Linked DNA regions of Homo sapiens: region 1 is linked to region 2. Evidence: promoter capture Hi-C in 16 types of primary human blood cells and fetal thymus (Javierre and others, 2016). All regions are on one chromosome and are shown on one strand. Each heading gives the region's core, a stretch centred on a gene start or on the middle of the fragment in contact. The rest is flanking DNA. Distances are from core to core; before and after follow the strand shown.

Region 1 (5,530 bases), core at 2,612-5,111, 420 kb before region 2:
ACCCACAGACACGTGAAATAACAAATGTTTGTTCCTTAAGCCACTACATTTTTGGGTGATTTTTTACATAGCAATAAATAATAGATTTAGTAAAAATGGTAGCTCTTGCCTGGCCAAGAGGGTATTAAATAATTCAATAAAGTCTTAGTGCTTATATATATCTAAGAAACTTGATAGAAGCTGTACCAAATTTGACAATAATCATACATATATATTTTTTTTTCTTTCTTTTTTTTTTTTTTGACTGAGTCTCACTCTGTCGCCCAGGCTGAAGTGCAGTGGTACACAATCTCAGCTCACTGTAATCTCCACCTCCCGGGTTCAAGGGATTCTGCTGCCTCAGCCTCCCAAATAGCTGGGATTACAGGTGCACGCCACAACATCCAGCTAATTTTTGTATTTTTAGTAGACATGGGGTTTTACCATGTTGCCCAGGCTGGTCTTGAATTCCTGGGCTCAAGTGATCCACTGGCCTGGGCCTCCCATAGTGCTGGGATTACTGGCATGAGGCACTGTGCCCAGCCACAGTTTTTTTTTTTTTTTTAATGTGTAATTTGTTGTGATTTCCTTTTCTAGTCTAAATAAAGATTCTCTTGAACCTAATTTTGTCTCAATAATTTTGCATTTTTTCCCCAAACTTTTGCTCTCAAAGCAAAAACACACTGAACGTCCCAAAAGGTTTTGTCATTCACTGAAGAGGTCTAGATATGTTTAAAATCCATTTAGAATTTGAAGGGCAGTATGAATAGGGGGAATCTGGCATTGTGTCCTTGGTTTAGATACTTCACCCCCACTTATAACATACAAAGGGCAAGCCCAGCCCCACCCCTGAGAATTCTGTGTGTATATATGGGGGGGTGGGGAAGGTTGGCATGTGCACTCTCCTGACTCTTAGAGGGTTTCCCAACTAGTTTTCTCTCTCTGCAACAGCCTTAGGCTTTTTCTCCTGCCTTTTTTTTTTTTTTTTTCTGTGAGACAGGTTCTCTCTCTGTTGCCCAGGTTGGAGTGCAGTGGTGCAATCTTGGCTCACTGCAAACTCTGCCTCCTGGGTTCAGGTGCTTCCCTGCCTCAGACTCCTGAGTAGCTGGGATTACAGGCGGGTGCCACCACACCCGGCTAATTTTGTATTTTTAGTAGAGACAGGCTTTCGCCACGTTGGCCAGGCTGGTCTTCACCTCCTGACCTCTAGTGATCTGCTGGCCTGGGCCTCCCAAAGTGCTGGGATTACAGGCGTGAGCCCCTGCCCAGCTTGCCCTCTTCAATGTCCTTATTACCCTATTATTTTTTCTTTCCCCCCCTTGAGAGATACTAATGGAAAATGAAACATGATTGTTTCCATCAATAAGGGACTGGTGAAATAAATTGTAAAAAGAGGCTTACAGAGAGCGGGATGGGAGCTATTAAAAAGAATGTAGGCCGACGTGGGCAGATTACCTGAGGTTAGGAGTTCCAGACCAGCCTGGCCAACATGGAGAAACCCCGTCTCTACTAAAAATACAAAATTAGCCTGGCGTGGTGGTGCATTCCTGTAATCCCAGCTACTCAGGAGGCTGAGGCAGAAGAATAGCTTGAACCCGGAAGGCGGAGGTTGCATTGAGCCGAGATTGTGCCATTGCACTCCAGCTTGGGAAACAAGAGTGAAACTCTGTCTCAAAAAAAAAAAAAAAAAAAAGAATATGGTAGGCCTCTAAGTGCTGATGACCATTAAAAGATATTCAAGATATATTGTAAAGTGAAAAAAGCAAATTGCAAAACGGTATGTATAGTTTTAGCCTGTTCATATTTTCATTCATTCTAAGATGTACATCCTTTCCTAGCCTGTCACCTAGGCTGGAGTGCAATGGCGTGATCTTGGCTCACTGCAACCTCCACCTCCCAGGATCAAGCAATTCTCTTGCCTCAGCCTCCAAGTAGCTGGGATTACAGATGCGTGCCACTGTGCTGGGCTAATTTTTGTATTTTTAGTAGAGGCAGGATTTCACCATGTTGGCCAGGCTAGTCTCGAACTCCTGACCTTGTGGTTCGCCCGCCACAACCTCCCAAAGTGCTGGGATTAGAGGTGTGAGCCACCCTGCCCGGCCGGCCTGTCAGTTTAATTGGCAGTTGTTGGTTTTTTTCTTCCACTTAGAGGCTTGTAAAATAAAAGTGTATCTTACAATCAATGATACTTTAGGTTTACTGAAATATAACTATAAACTCTATATAGCACACTAGTCAGGCCAGGACTGCATCTTGGAGAGTCCTAGGTTGGAAAACCCTTAAGCTATGTGGAGAGCCCTCTGGTAAATTTTAAAAACCCTAGGTGTCGTGGCACAGACAGAAATTGGTTACCAGTAAGAGTCACACAGACCAAAAAAATGAAGACCAAAACAAAAGAAAAAGAAAAAGAAAGAAAAAAAGAAATTGGCTACCAGGAACTTGCTTATTAGGTCTGTTGACATGGCAATGCCAGAGCACTGTCACGTAAGGCAGAGATTGGAGCTAAGATTCTAAAGTTGTGGTTCTTACTTTGAAAGGAGATAAAAGCCCAGATATGAGGAGGCTCAGGACCCCTCTGCTCTGATAAATTCCTAGTCTTGGGCTGCCTGGGACTCGCACATCACCAACCCGGCAGCTGGAAGAACAAGCACACGAGGAAATAAAAGGTGCCTGAAGTCCCATCTGCTTTATCATCAAGTGTTTCCTTTCTTAGTAGCACAACTATATCCTTTACCCAAGTTAGGTAAAATGTTGCCACCTAATTAGAGTTCTGCTGAGCCACTACCCCAGGGGGACCTTGGGCTCCTATTATATGTGTAATATATTTAAGTATATTTTCAGTGTAAAAGCCAGAAAGGATATATGGTAAGTTAATGAGAGCTATTTCTCAAGAATGAGATTAATAGAGATTTTAACTTTCTACTCTCTATATTTCTGTATTGTTTCTAAAAAAACTTACGTGTATTAAGTTTTTTACTTTTTTTTTTTTTTTTTTTTTTTGAGATGGAGTCTTACTCTGTCGCCAGGTTGGAGTGCAGTGGTGCGATGTCAGCTCAATGCAACCTCTGCCTCCCAGATTCAAGCGATTCTCCTGCCTCAGCCTCTCGAGTAGTTGGGACTACAGGCGCGTGCCACCACGCCTAGCTAATTTTTGTATTTTTGGTAAAGATGAGGTTTCACCATGTTGACCAGGATGGTCTCGATCTCTTGACCTTGTGATCCGCCTGCCGAGGCCTCCCAAAGTGCTGGAATTACAGTCGTGAGCCACCGCACCGGCCACGTGTATTACTTTTATAACCGGGGGAAAAAGTAAAAACATTCAAAAGGGAAAATAAGGGACAATGTTAATAATGAAGCAGGGATGAGACTGCTGATTGCGACCTCCAACTAACTCTCCTGAATTTTGTCACGAGCATGAATTACTTTTCCAATACACAAATTTGCTTTAAGAAATCAAAGAAACACCCCCCCAAAGCCCAATCTCACTTCTTCAAGTAAAAAATAAACTAACAAATCATTCTACATTGCATGCTTAGGAAAAGTACAGTTTATTTCTAAATTAAATGTATACATGGTTTGGGAGATTTACTCATTAAGCAAACACTTTGGTAAGAATAAATTGAGCGCTTACTGAATGGCAGTCTCAGTTCCTGCGGCCCTCCCGCTTATTACCTCATTTGATTTAAAAACAAAAACAAAACGTTATGAAAGCCGGCTTCGAGGCATTCCTCTGAAGGGAAGGGACTCCCCGACCCAGCGCCTCCCCCGTCACGTGACCCTGTGACCCGGAGCAGCCATCTTAGGCATCGCCTCATAGAGGAACTACATCTTCCAGAATCCTCGCGCCCTGCGTCGTGCTGGCACTTTTACCGGCCGGGCCTTAGAGCGGAGCCTGTAGCCAGGCGCCATCTTTGACGCTGGCAGTCTTGGTTTTCTGCTAGTGCTGCTGCTGCTGGGAGGACGACGGACGGCAGCGGCCAAGCAAGAAGAAAGACGTGGCAGCAAGCGGGAGTCGGGGATAGTGTCATCGGTTCGGTAAAGTTTCTGTTCTCTGGTAACTAGACCCGTTTTTTTGATTCCCGGGTGGCTTGGGGCCGGGGAGGTGGGGGAGAGGGCGAGGGGAGTGGCAGCGGCCTCCCCTCGCCCCTGGGTCGCGGCCTATCCCGGGAAGTCAGAGCGGATCCTTCAGCTTCGCCGTAACGACCCCTCCCCCCCACCTCCCGGTCGCGGCCCTCGCCGGGGCTGGCTGGGAGCCCCAGGCTCCCGCTCACTTTTCCCATCCTCCCCACCCCCACCCCGTTCACCCCACCCCCACGGCGCCTGCTCCTTTCCCAGCCAACCTTCCTCCCCTCCCCCACATCCGGTGTTCGCTAATCTCGAGGAGCCCGGAGCAGCCCCGAAAACCGACTGTTCCCCCGAATCCCGAAGAGAGAACTGACACTAGATTGCTTTCTTCGGGGCAACAGTTTCTCTAGTTGAGCGGACCCTCACTGCCTAAATCAATCAGACTGAGTGCCGGGCGCTGAATTTACCTACTCTCATTCCTCTCCAGGGTCCCGGTACTTTGGAGCTTGTCTCAAACTCCACATACAGAAAGCCACCGACCTTATTCCGGTATCCTACACCCATTCCCCACTCTCATTACACTCCCACCCCTGGCCCTCAGCGTCGGAGTCAAGAGCAACAGGGACACTTCCGTTCTCCTTGTAGGACTGGTGAAACCGTAATGAAGAACACCCCTAAACTCCCATAATCGGTGCGGATTCCTATGGGGAAGGCCTATATTGTTGACATCTTCCAGGCCTTGGTTCTGGACCTTGAGAAAGAGGCTGTGGAACTAGAGATAGCGATGCTTTTTAGGGTAAATGTATGTAGGTATTGGGGGAAGGGGAGGGATCAATCGAAAAATGGAAGTGGTTTAAAGTTCATATTTCACTTTTTGCTATCTCTATAGCGTACAACTTGTGAGTTACTTACAGGCTGTAAAAGCTTCTCAAGTCTAAAAATATCTGAAAACTAAACTTGAATTAACTCTTAATACAAACAGTACTTTGAAAATGCAGCATTTAACCTTGTTTTAAAATTTTTTTCTCAAAGCATTTTTTTCCAGCCACTCACATTTTAAAAGGTTGTATTACTTTTAGTTAGAACTGAAAGGGCTCAACTAGCATTTGCTGTGACCAGTATGCGGAGTCTGTGTTGGCTTTCCAGAATTGACTTTTTGGGTTGTATTGGCAAATCACAGTCCTAAATGATGAATGTTGAATGATGCACTATGTTTTTGTTTAAATGAGATTTCCTGAAAATAGTTAATTTCAGAATTAAGGGAAATTGATGTCGCTATCATGAGGCATCATAAAAATATGTATTTTACAAGGTGAAGGCATTTCAAGTAGATATAGTTCTTGATGAAGCAGGAAGAACATGGATCTGGGATTTGGAAGACCTGGCTTCTAGCTGCTACTAACCAACTCTGTGACTCTGGGAAAGGGGGACTCAGTTCTTACTTCTGTAACATGAGGACACTGGACTATTTGAATTCAGAACTTAG
Region 2 (5,581 bases), core at 369-2,868:
CACGCCTGTAATCCCAGCACTTTGGGAGGCTCAGGCAGGTGGATCACTTGAGAAGTCAGGAGTTCGAGACCAACCTGGTAAACGTGGAGAAACCCCATCTCTACTAAAAATACAAAAATTAGCCAGGTGTGGTGGTGGGTGCCCGTAACCCCAGCTACTTAGGAGGCTGAGGCAGGAGAATCGCTTGAACCCAGGAGGTGGAGGTTGCAGTGAGCAGAGATCATGCCACTGTACTCCAACCTGAGCGACAGAGTGAGACTCTGTCTCAAAAAAAAAAAAAAAAAAAAAGAACTGGCTTCCCTGCTGCTGCCTTCATACCTCCACAGTCTATTCTCAACCCAGCACCCAGAATGATCTTTTAAACATAGAAATAGAACATATCACACCATAGCACAAAACCAAGGTCATTACCATGGTCTATAAGTCTCCAGTGTCCTGACCCCTCAGTGACATCCCTGACCTAAACTCCTATGATTCTCCCCTCACCTCACTTTGCTCCAGGTATACCCACCTCCTTGTTGTTCTTCAAACACACCAAGTATGCTAATGCCTCAGGGCCTTTGCACTGCCTGTCCCTGCTTCCTGAACATTTCCCCTCCAGAGAGCTGCGTGGCTTTGCTTCCTCACTTCCTATAGATCTCTGAAAAAAGATCTGAATAAAGGCTCACCTTCTCAGTGAGGCTTCCCTGACCACTCTATATAAAATAGCGACCCCTCCTACCTCGAACTCCATAGCCTCCTCTTGTTTTATTTTCATCTGGAGGACTTATCATCTTCTGATATACTATATACTTCTTTCTGTTAATTACCTGTCTCCCCTCTCTAGAATGTAAGCAGGGAGTCAGTTTCATTTAATGTTGGACACTCTATATCCAACACAGTGCTTGGCACACAGCAGAGACAAATCTGTTGAGTGAACAAAAGAATGTTGTCACCAATTCTCAGATGAAAAACCAAGGCTCAGAGGCTTTAAGTAACTCACCCAAATGAAGCCCACAGAGCCACGGTTCTTCCCATGGCCCCAGACTTGTTCCAAGACCTCCTCCCTACCTCTTCCCCCAAAAGAAGGGGAAGGATGTTTAGGAGTGAGGGTATGGTGGTTTGGTCAGGGGAGTGGAGTTTAGTTTTTTATAAGAAGCCCCCAGGGCCACAGGAGACCTTGATGGTGTGGGGAAAGATGTCTGAATGGGCAGAGGCCTCCTGAGTCCACCTTTGTGGCAACCCAGTTCTAAGAACCCGGGATGGGAAAGGGGTCAGTGTGAATGGGGAACCTGCCAGGCCCCCTGGGCACCAGCCTCTAGCTACCTGTGGGCCCTGAGCAACTCCCACCCGCTGGAGGGTAGGGAGCCACACCCCACCCTGCCTGCTGCCCCAGGGTGCCAGCACAGCATCTCCCAGCCCCTGGCTCCAGAGGTCACGCTTGTAGTGACAGAGAGCCCAGCTGGGAGAGAGAGCCAGCCGGCAGGGAGCCTGGCCTGGATAGCCCATTGCAGCCCCGCTCATCCCACTTACTCTGCCATTCGGTGATGGAGATCATGCCGCACTCAGCCTGGGGGGCTTTCCGGGTGGAAGCGGGCAAGTGGAGCGTGGCCCAGAGGACGCAGCTGGTACATGGTCACGGGAAGCTGACCCTTGGTTAAGTTGCGAAATGAGCCTGTGGCAAATCATTAACTCTCCCTCCAGCCCCCGCTCCACCCCCGCACACCACGCAGGTGCTTCTACTCGCCAGCTCCCTCCTCCCGTTTTCCGGTAGGGCAATGCCCCGCCCCTCCACCTGCCGCGCCTGCCCGGGGAAGGCACCGCCCACCTGACCCTTTCCTCGCACCTCGCGGTGTTCTGCGGCTCTCGTCTGCTCCGCGAAACTTAGATTGTATGTGGAAGCATTGGAATCTAGGGGGTGCTCAAGTTTCTTGCTTGGTTTGATAGTGTGGGAAGAGTTGGCATCTGCGCATCCCTTTGGGAATGTACTAAATTCATCTTGAAAGTCAAGCTTTTTGCTCTCTGCTATTGCACATGCTAGGCGCTGGGAGGCGATGAGCGACTGAGCACAAAGCCTGTTGTTGACCTAATGGCAGAGCCAGATCGGGTTAAATCAATGGCAAAAGCGCCATGGGGGAAGTTAGACGTGAAGGTCTTCGACCTCCTTTCCCCAAGCGGCGTCCAAGCTTTGGACTGACTGTGATGTTGAGCTATGGAAGACAAAGCCCTGAATTTGGGGTTGGGGCAGGACTGCACAATTTAGGAGGCCTGGTTCTAGTCTACCCACCAGCTGTGTAGACATGGATTCGTCCTTTGGGCCTGCAAAAAGAGAGGCAGTTAGTTCCTAACATCCTTTTTTCCCATCGCAGAGCAGTGGTTCTGACGTGGCATTGATGCCAGGAGAGCCAACATCCACTTTGCAATGTCTTCTGTGTCCAGAAATGAAGAAATGAATTTCAAAGACTACCTATATACATCATTTAAAAATGCAAATAGGCCTGGCATACAAAATGCATTATGTCTGTAATCCCAGCATTTTGGGAGGCCAAGGCAGGAGGATTGCTTGAGCCCAGGAGTTTGAGACCAGCCTGAGCAACATAGTGAGACCTTGTCTCTACAATAATAAAAATAAAAAATTAGCCGGATGTGGTGGTACCTGCCTGTAGTCCCAGCTACTGGGGAGGCTAAGGTAGGAGGATTGCTTGAGCCCAGAAGGTCGAGGCTGCGATGAGCTGTGATCAAGCCATGCACTCCAGCCTGGGTAGCAGAGCGAGATCCTGTCTCAAAAAAAAACAAACCAAACAACAACAACAAAACCAAGGAAAGCTAACATAATTTTTTAAAAAGAAACAAAAAGATAAATTATAATAAAACATGATGTCTTTCAATATATAAATGTTCAGGCAAGACTTACCAGAAGACATAAATGAAATAGGCAGATTGCTTGCACCCACACATAATATATGTTTGAATTTAAGAGAAATAGAAGATGAGCCATTCTATGCAAAAACAAAAATCACACACATGCAAGAAAATGAAAGAGTAGCAGGAAGTGAACATAGAATAAAAACTGTTAGATAAGGAATAACAGACCAGACGTACTTGCATATGATGAGAGGGAAAGCATCTTAATTGAAATAGGGATAACATAGCAAGGCAAATTAGAGAGCACAAGGTGGAGATAATATAGAAGTATGATGTGCATGCAAAGGAACTCAGTCTTAGGTATGTGTGTATTGTCAAAATAGCTCCCATGGAATGGGGTCGCCATAGAGTACCACAGACACATCAACCTCTGTCTTGAAACATATCAGCGTTGAGGTAAAATTCAGTCTCTGGGATCTTAAAAGGCCTTAGAGATCACATATTTCCAATGGGCAATGGGGGATAGAGGATGGATTGGGAAAAGAAAAGAAGATAAAAGTGGTTTAGAGCAATTGCATGTGGACACCCGGGACAGTGTTGTAAAGACAGGACACAACATTTCCACACATAATTATGACAACATAGCATCCTTGGGCTCCAAAAAAACTAAACATATAAAGGATGGCAATAATATGAAATAAACCCTAAAAACTTTTATTAAGGAAACTCAGTGAGATCTTCTGCATCTCAAGTGTCTCTGATTCCATGTTTGCTTCTCTCACATATCCTCTGTTAAATATTTTCAGTCAATTTCTTCGTTTATTCAGTATCACCTACTGATCAGAACTGTTTTCAATCAAATACATAGTAGCTGAAATCTTATAATCCTTTGTGTAGACAATGCATGGAGTAGATTATTCAATAATTTTAAGACAATGTCTTTATTCCTTTTAAGCTTCTGCTCCATAATAACCATCTCCTAACTTTCTGAGTGTTCATGAAATTTATTTTTAAAAGCTTACAAAACCTTTTGGTATTACTGTCAATTGAAGTATGACCAACTTTTACTGGTAGTGGGTTTAGTTCAGTTGTACATTCGAAAGTAGTACAGGATATGGGACAATTCTTTGTTTTGGAAATCTGTCCTGTGCATTGCAGTCTCGAAATGCCAGCAAGAGTTTTGCACCCTTATGATTGAGACAACCAAATGCCCCTAGGGGCCAGAATCATCCCTGTTGAAATCACTCGTAGGTTAAGAGCTTCATCCTGGCTTCGTGAAGCCTTGGGCATTTTATTTATCCTTTCTGTGCCTCAGCTTCTTGGATAATTATAGTACCTATGACTGACATAGAGGATGAGGATTCATGAGTAAATGCATGTGAAGTGCATAGAACCAGGTACCTGGCACATAGTAAGCACTTAATGAACCACTGTTATTCCTGTTACTGTATAGTTATAATAATTACTATTGTTATTAATGTTATTATTAGTATACTGTTAATATGCTTTATATGAAAGACTTCTACTGTCATCTCAAATTGTGGTGCTAAACCACTCCCGCAGGTGTATAAAATAGCAACTGGGGATGCCCCTTCCTGCCCCCACCCCCAGCCATGGAACCCACCTGTGAGCTCAGGAGAATTAAACGCTCATGATACTGGGCCCTCCGGGCCTGATTCTCTGGGTACTGGAGCTAAGCCCAGAGGCGCTGTCCACAACTCATCCTTCTGGAGAGGGACCTTCATAGGGACAACGCCGGGAAGGCTGGTGCTAGTCCTCGACCCATGGCAGTCTCATGACCCTGCCATGATGAGAAAAGTGTGGGGTAGTGCAGTTACTCCCTGGGCTGGAGGCATAGAAGTGGCAGGGGAGGGACACCTCAGGGATGGCACGGGCCCTGGTGATGTCTTCCAGCAAAGGCTGTAGAGCTAGTAAAGGAGGGGTCCTGGAAAACCTTCTCCCTCTTCCCACATCAGGCCCCTGCAGGTGGCCAGGGAGCCTTTGCAACATCACCACTTCCACTTCCTCACATTTGGAAGTGAATTTGAGTTTTCAAAGTGATTTTCATCCATTTTCTCATTTGTCTTTCTTGAAAGTTCCATAAGATGGTGGTTAATATACCCATTTTCCAGATGAGGGAACTGAGACTCAAGAATTTAATGACTTGTCCAAATCTTCATGCAGCTAGCAAGGAGCATGTTGCTAGGGGCAGGAGTTGAGGATGACATGCCACCTTCTCTCATTGGTCTCAGTAACGAGGTGAGGCTCGGGATGAGGAGGGGGACGTGGCGTGGCCCCAGTTCCCTGGCAGCAGCAGGGTCTGAGGCTTGGCTGCCTGCCTGACCCTGTCGTGCCTGTCTTCAAGAATAAATAAGTGATCATGCAGTTACACAGCTCTGCTCCTTAAAGGACATTCTGCTATTGCATTTTCATTTACATTTCTCAGCTACTACCCCCTTTTTACAAATCCCAACCTGGCTTGATCTGGTAGGGGATGGAGCAGGCACCAGCTGGCATCATCTCTTGAGAGGAGGAGGCAGCCCTTGTCGGTGGATGCAGTGATGCCCGGTGGTACTCTGTGGTCTCACATTCCACCTCCTCCCCAAGCCCTTGCCACTGGCTCTGGCTCAGATGGAGCCTGAAGATAAAGGCTCAGCCCCCCAGAAAGTGACGAGTTCTCCAATATGCATCCCCCTACCCCAGCCTCTGATGCAGGCCCTCCCCCAGAGCCTACATC

The links. The method cuts DNA at HindIII sites, captures the fragments that hold promoters and counts their contacts. A CHiCAGO score of 5 or more calls a contact.
Region 1: a contact is called between the fragment with the promoter of ZBED6 here and the fragment with the promoter of GOLT1A in region 2, in 2 of 17 cell types (fetal thymus and M2 macrophages). The highest score is 6.5, in fetal thymus.

The regions. Positions count from the first base shown.
Region 1 is chr1:203,791,762-203,797,291 of GRCh38, forward strand. ZBED6 (zinc finger BED-type containing 6) reads left to right here and starts at 3,862. Exons shown (of 17, transcript NM_001395895.1): 1 at 3,862-5,530. ZC3H11A (zinc finger CCCH-type containing 11A) reads left to right here and starts at 3,862. Exons shown (of 18, transcript NM_001376342.1): 1 at 3,862-4,033. RefSeq lists an enhancer at 3,563-3,982. The HindIII fragment of the contact is 5,182 bases long and covers 1-4,966 here.
Region 2 is chr1:204,212,370-204,217,950 of GRCh38, forward strand. GOLT1A (golgi transport 1A) reads right to left here and starts at 1,619. Exons shown (of 5, transcript NM_198447.2): 1 at 1,513-1,619. The coding sequence starts at 1,537. RefSeq lists an enhancer at 1,490-2,146. The HindIII fragment of the contact is 7,307 bases long and covers 1-1,988 here.